2 separate regions of the Homo sapiens genome follow, and region 1 is linked to region 2. Evidence: promoter capture Hi-C in 16 types of primary human blood cells and fetal thymus (Javierre and others, 2016). All regions are on one chromosome and are shown on one strand. Each heading gives the region's core, a stretch centred on a gene start or on the middle of the fragment in contact. The rest is flanking DNA. Distances are from core to core; before and after follow the strand shown.

Region 1 (3,250 bases), core at 276-2,775, 310 kb before region 2:
GGGCTGATTGTAGTGTTTTTTTTAGGAGATTCAACTACCTAAAAATGATTAAGTATAGGAACTTACATAAGATAGGTTTATTTCTCTGAAAATCCAAAGCTGGCAGGATGTCCAAGTGATGTAGGCTGCTGCAACCTATGAGTTAATTCAAGGAGCCAAATTCTTTTTTGTTTTCGTAGCCATCCCTTAGGGTGTTACCTGCATAGTCTCACTATACCTATGTTCCAGCCCATGGTATGAGAGAAAAATGGGGGAGAGAAACAAAATCCTTTTTAAGGGCATAACCCCAAAGTCACATGACTTTATTCCATATGTGTGCCTTTAGTCAGAATGTAGTCACACTACCAATCTAGCTAAAAAGGAGTCCAGAGAACGTAATCTCTGACAGGTTGGCCTATTCTTAGATAAAACTAATGGGAAGAAGAGAAATGGACACAGGAAGTTGGTAATGAGCCTTCAAGATGGCCCCCAATAATCCCTGACACCTAGTATTTACAATCTTGTGTAGTCCCCTCCCATGTTACACTAAGTTTAATCTGTGTGTCCAACATCATAGGCAAGAGTGATAGCATGTCACGTCTGAGAATAGATTACAAAAAGACGACAGCCAGTCTTGAGATCTCTCTCTGACCACTTGCTCTGGGGGAAGCCAGTTGCTATGTTGTGAGGTAGCCCTGTGGAGAAACCTATATGGAAAGAACTGAGTGTCTGGCCTCCCAACAACCATACAGTGAGCTTGGAAGTGGATTCTCCAGCCTCAGTCAGGCCTTGAGATGTTGCAGCTCAGGCGGATAGCTTGACTACACCCTCGTGAGACACTCTGAGCCAGAACCACCCAGCTAAGCTGCAGGTGGATTCCTGATCCTCAGAAACTGAGGTAATAAATGCTTGTTATTTTAAGCTGCTATGTTTGAGGGTAATTATTACACACTCTGTTGCTGCATAACGAATTGCTCCAGAGCTTAGTGGCTTAAAACCCCTACGTTTATTAGCTCATAGATTCTTTGAGTCAGGAATCTGGACATAACGTAGCTGGATCCTTGGGCTCTGGTTGCAGTCAAGGTGTCAGCAGGGCTGCAGTTACCTTCAGGCTTGATTAGGGATAGATCAGCTTCCAAGCACTCTCACATGGTTGTTGGCCAGTTTCTACATGGGTTATTAGACTAAAGCTTCAATTCCTCAAAAGCTGTTGGCTGGAAGCCTCTCTTGGTTCCTTACTACATAGGCTTTTCCATTGGGCAGTTTACAACATGCCTGCTGGCCTCACTACAGTGAGCAAGAAAGAGGGTAAGAGATGGTAAGCAAGAAAAAAGCCACAGTCTTTTGTAACTTAATCTTTGAAGTAATATTGTCAGAGGTGTTTGAACCAGAGCGACTCCATATTGAATAGGGGCTGGGTAAAATTAGGCTGAGACCTATTGGGGTGCATTCCCAGGAGGTTAGGCATTCTTAGTCATAGGATGACATAGGAGATCAGCACAAAGTACAAAGACCTTGCTGATAAAACAGTTTGCAGTAAAGAAGCCAGCCAAAACCTACCAAACCCAAGATGGCAATGAAAGTGACCTCTGGTCATTCTCACTGCTCGTTATCCACGAATTATAATGCGTTAGCATGCTAGAAGACATTCCCATCAGTGCCATGACAGTTTACAAATGCCTTAGCAATGTCTGGAAGTTACCCTGCATGGTCTAAAAAGGGGAGGAAACCTCAGTTCTGGGAATTGTCCTCCCCTTTCCTGGAAAACTCATGAATAATCCACCCCTTGTTTAGCATATAATCAAGAAAGAACCGTAAGTGTTCTTAGTCGAGCAGCCCACACCACTGCTCTGCCTATGGAGTAGCCATTCTTTTATTCCTTTACTTTCTTAATAAGCTTGCTGTCACTTTACTCTATGAATTCACTTTGAACTCTTTTTTTGTGTGAGATCCAAGAACCTTCTCTTGGGGTCTGGATCGGGACCCCTTTCCAGTAATAATATTCCATCACTTTTTCCATATTCTATTCATGAAAAGCAAGCAACAGGTCCAGGCCACACTTAAGGGGAGGGGATTACACAAGAGGTTGAATACCAGGAAGTGGAGATCACTGGAGACCATCCTAGGAAGCTGCCTACCATAGTCTGCTCTCTGGTCCCCAGTGATTCACATCCCTCCCTCATGGCAAATACATCTACAACTCTCCAAGAGTCCCCAGAGCCTCACCTCATAACATCAGCTCTAAGTCCAGAATCCCATCATCTAAATCAGGTCCAGGTATGGTTGAGATACATCAGGTGTAGTTCCCCAAGTACAGCTCCTTAAGCACAGTTCCAATTGATCTGTGGATTTCTGAAGCTAAAGAGACGAGATACCTGCCCACCTCCCACACCCAATGTATTAGTCTGTTCTCATGCTGCTAATAAAGACATACCTGAGACTGGGTAATTTACAAAGGAAAGACGTTTAATTGACTCACAGTTCCACAGGGCTGGGGAGGCCTTACAATCATGGTGGAAGGCAAGCGGGGGGAGTAAATCCACGTCTTAAATGGTGACAGACAAAGAGAGAATGAGAGCCAAGTGAAAGGGGAAACCCGTTATAAAACCGTCAGATCTCATGTGACTTATTCACTACCACCAGAACAGCATAGGGGAAATTGCCCCCATGATTCAATTATCTCCCACTGGGTCCCTCTCACAACATATAGGTATTACGGGAGCTACAATTCAAGACAAGATTTGCTTGGGAAAATAGCCAAACCATATCACCCAATATACGATGGTGGGACAGGCACAAGATAATCTCTACACACAAAAAAGGGGCAAATAGGAGGCACACAGGTGTTACTGGTCCATAGCAATTCTGAAATCCAAATTTTAGAACTCAGTCTCATTCCTGCTAAAAATAATTCTCCATGGCTCTTGGCTCCATCCTCTGGACTCCTTATTTTTGCCCTCTGAATCATCCTTTTTTTTTGGAGACACAGTCTCACTCTGTCACCCAGGCTGGAGTGTAGTGGCGCAATCTCGGGCTCACTGCAACCTCCACCTCCCGGGTTCGAGTGATTCTCCTGCCTCAGCATCCCGAGTAGCTGGGACTACAGGCTCCCACCACCATGCCTGGGTGATTTTTGTATTTTTAGTAGAGACGGGGTTTCACCATGTTGGCCAGGCTGGTCTTGAGCTCTTGACCTCAAGCGATCTGCCCTCTTCAGCCTCCCAAAGTGCTGGGATTACAGGTGTGAGCCACTGTGCCCGGACTTTTTTTT
Region 2 (3,359 bases), core at 194-2,693:
CCTGGAGAGAGGCGGGAGGGACACTGGCCTGGAGAGAGGCGGGAGGGACACTGGCGTGGAGAGAGGCGGGAGGGACACTGACCTGGAGAGAGGCGGGAGGGACACTGGCGTGGAGAGAGGCGGGAGGGACGCTGGCCTGGAGAGAGGCGGGAGGGACGCTGACCTGGAGAGAGGCGGGAGGGACGCTGGCCTGGAGAGAGGCGGGAGGGACACTAGCCTGGAGAGAGGCGGGAGGGACACTGGCGTGGAGAGAGGCGGGAGGGACGCTGGCCTGGAGAGAGGCGGGAGGGACGCTGACCTGGAGAGAGGCGGGAGGGACGCTGGCCTGGAGAGAGGCGGGAGGGACACTAGCCTGGAGAGAGGCGGGAGGGACACTGACCTGGAGAGAGGCGTGAGGGACACTGGCCTGGAGAGAGGCGGGAGGGACACTGGCCTGGAGAGAGGCGGGAGGGACACTGACCTGGAGAGAGGCGGGAGGGACACTGGCGTGGAGAGAGGCGGGAGGGACGCTGGCCTGGAGAGAGGCGGGAGGGACGCTGACCTGGAGAGAGGCGGGAGGGACGCTGGCCTGGAGAGAGGCGGGAGGGACACTGACCTGGAGAGAGGCGTGAAGGACACTGGCCTGGAGAGAGGCGGGAGGGACACTGGCCTGGAGAGAGGCGGGAGGGACACTGGCGTGGAGAGAGGCGGGAGGGACACTGGCTGGCCTGGAGAGAGGCGGGAGGGACACTGGCCTGGAGAGAGGCGGGAGGGACGCTGACCTGGAGAGAGGCGGGAGGGACGCTGGCCTGGAGAGAGGCGGGAGGGACGCTGACCTGGAGAGAGGCGGGAGGGACGCTGGCCTGGAGAGAGGCGGGAGGGACGCTGGCCTGGAGAGAGGCGGGAGGGACACTGGCGTGGAGAGAGGCGCGCGGGACAGGGGACAGAGGCGGGAGGGACACTGACCTGGAGAGAGGCGGGAGGGACAGGGGAGAGAGGCGGGAGGGACAGGGGAGAGAGGCGGGAGGGACGCTGGCCTGGAGAGAGGCGGGAGGGACACTGGCCTGGAGAGAGGCGGGAGGGACACTGGCCTGGAGAGAGGCGGGAGGGACACTGACCTGGGAAGCCCGCGGCTCGGGGCAGGCGAGGATCAGGAGCAGAAGGAAGAGCGCGCGCGGAGAGCTGGGCACCATCTTGCCAGTCGGAATCCCGCTGCCTGGGAGGGGAAATAACTTTGCCTCCGCTGCCGAGTTTGTCCCAGCGATGCGGCAGCCGTCCCTGCAGGGTGCGGGGCGCCGCGCGGCCGGGGGGCGGCTGGGGCAGGGGGGGAGGCGGGAGGCCCCGAGCGCAGCGCGTCCCGCGGGGATCGGCGCCGCCCGGGCCTTGCGAGGGTCCAGGTGCGCCCGCAGCTGCCCGCACGAGACAGTCCGCGCGAGGCGGGGAGGCGCCGGCCCCTGGGCTAAGGACGAGGGAGGAGGGGCTGCCCGGCCGGGAATGCGCCCGGGAGCGCGCCCAACCCGCGACGCCGAGGACGAGCGCGGGCATCCTCGGGGCCTGGCAGGGATGGGCGGCCAGTGCCCCGCATATGTGCGGGTGACTGGAAGCCCACCCTGGGCGGGTTCACTCCCGACCGTCCTATTTCCCAACCAAGTAGACTGAGGCTCAGTCACCAAGGACAAGTGGCAGAACAGAAACCCAAACCCAGGTCTGTCCTACTTCAAAGCCCACGCGACACCCTCCTCCCGACATTCCTAGAAGGGGGCCAGGAAATGGGCTTCATAAGCTTGACGTGGGGTGGACTGAGCTCTCCATCCGAATAAACTAGTGTCCCTTTAAATAATGCAATGGGGCCGTGAGAACACGCACGCACAGTGAGTAGATACACACACAGTGATACAGTGAGGGGATCTACGTCCTTCTGATTCACTGTCCTCCTTGCTCAAGGGAAGGAGAAACTCAGTTTAAATCGGAGGTCAGGTTCTAGAACATTGCCTGCCTTGCTGAAGTCGAATCAGGAAGTGCCAGGCCGGCATGAGCAGTCTGAAGTCCCCTGCCATCAGGGCTGTGGTACAACCAGATGCCTCAGACCTGAGCTCCCGGAAGGCATGACTGACGTTCTTCCTGGAAGGTTTTCTGAAGGCAGTCACTGCAGATGTCCTGGGACACACAAGTCTGGTCAAGCCCCAGATCTCTTTTTCCTCTTCCACATTTCACTTTGTTGAGCCCACTCAGAGCTCAGGGAACGGGGAGCCCACAAGACTGTGACCACAGAGCAGGAGCTGTTTCCCAGCAGAGGCCAGAAAGGAAAGCTGGAGTCCTGGCTTAGTCCCTTCAAACTGCTATAGCAAAATACCATAAACTGAGTGGCTTATAAACAATAGAACGTGTTTCTCACAGTTCTGGAGACTGGGAGGTCCAAGATCAAGGTGTCAATAGATTAGGTGTTTGGCGAGGGCCAGAGTTCTGGTTCCCGTGTCCTCACAGGGGAAAGGCAGCTCTCTGGGGCCTCTTTTCTGAGGGCACTAATCCCAATTTTGAGGGCTCTGCACTCATGACCTAGTCACCTCCCAAAGGTCCCACCTCCTAATGCCATCATCTTGGGAATGAGGTTTCCAACATATAAATTTAGGGGAGACACCAACATTCAGAACCTAGCCAGTGCCCCAAAAAGCAGGGGACATGGTTTAGGCTGGCCTCCTGGGCATTGGTTGCCCAGGAAATCCTACAGTGCTGCTCCCCCAACCTTCCCATGCAAAGGAGGTGGAACGGGACCCATGTAAATCTTTTTTTTCTTTGAGACGGCGTCTTGCTCTGTTGCCTAGGCTGGAGTGCAGTGGCCTGATCTCAGCTCACTGCAGCCTTGCCTCCCTGGTTCAAGTAATTCTCCTGCCTCAGCCTCCCAAGCAGCTGGGGCTACAGGCATGCACCACCACGCCTAGCTAATTTTTGTATTTTTAGTAGAGACAGGTTTTCACCATGTTGGCCAGGCTTGTCTTGAACTCCTGACCTCAAATGACCCACCCGCCTCAGCCTCCCAAAGTGCTGGGATTATAGGTGTGAGCCACTGCAGCCTGCAAGGGATCCATGTAATTTTATTTTGCATTCCTGGTTGAACATCCTGAAGAGAGACATGGTCATACCCCTGCTTCTCCCTATCCAGGTGGAGAGGACGGGACAGCATGGCCCGATCCAGGGCAGCCTGTGGAGATGGTGGTTTTCTGCCTCGATCTCTCATGTGTTTGCTGTCTGTACCAAAAGCCAGTGCCCTGCTCCCTCTCTGTCTCTCTGTCCTCTGCCCTATCCTTGAAAAGCTTCCTCCTGGTCAGTGTGGCTGCATTTATTAATATTTTGTGTCCTATCCCACCTTGTGTTTACATGGC

What was found. The method cuts DNA at HindIII sites, captures the fragments that hold promoters and counts their contacts. A CHiCAGO score of 5 or more calls a contact.
Region 1: a fragment that was not itself captured here is called in contact with the fragment with the promoter of FBLN7 in region 2 in 7 of 17 cell types (M1 macrophages, naive CD4 T cells, endothelial precursors and 4 more); the score reaches 7.1 in M1 macrophages.

The regions. Positions count from the first base shown.
Region 1 is chr2:112,449,637-112,452,886 of GRCh38, reverse strand. No RefSeq gene overlaps it. Among named protein-coding and RNA genes, the nearest start is that of RGPD8, 18 kb to the right of the region's middle. The HindIII fragment of the contact is 707 bases long and covers 1,172-1,878 here.
Region 2 is chr2:112,136,469-112,139,827 of GRCh38, reverse strand. FBLN7 (fibulin 7) reads right to left here and starts at 1,443. Exons shown (of 8, transcript NM_153214.3): 1 at 1,098-1,443. The coding sequence starts at 1,172. The HindIII fragment of the contact is 8,502 bases long and covers 1-1,764 here.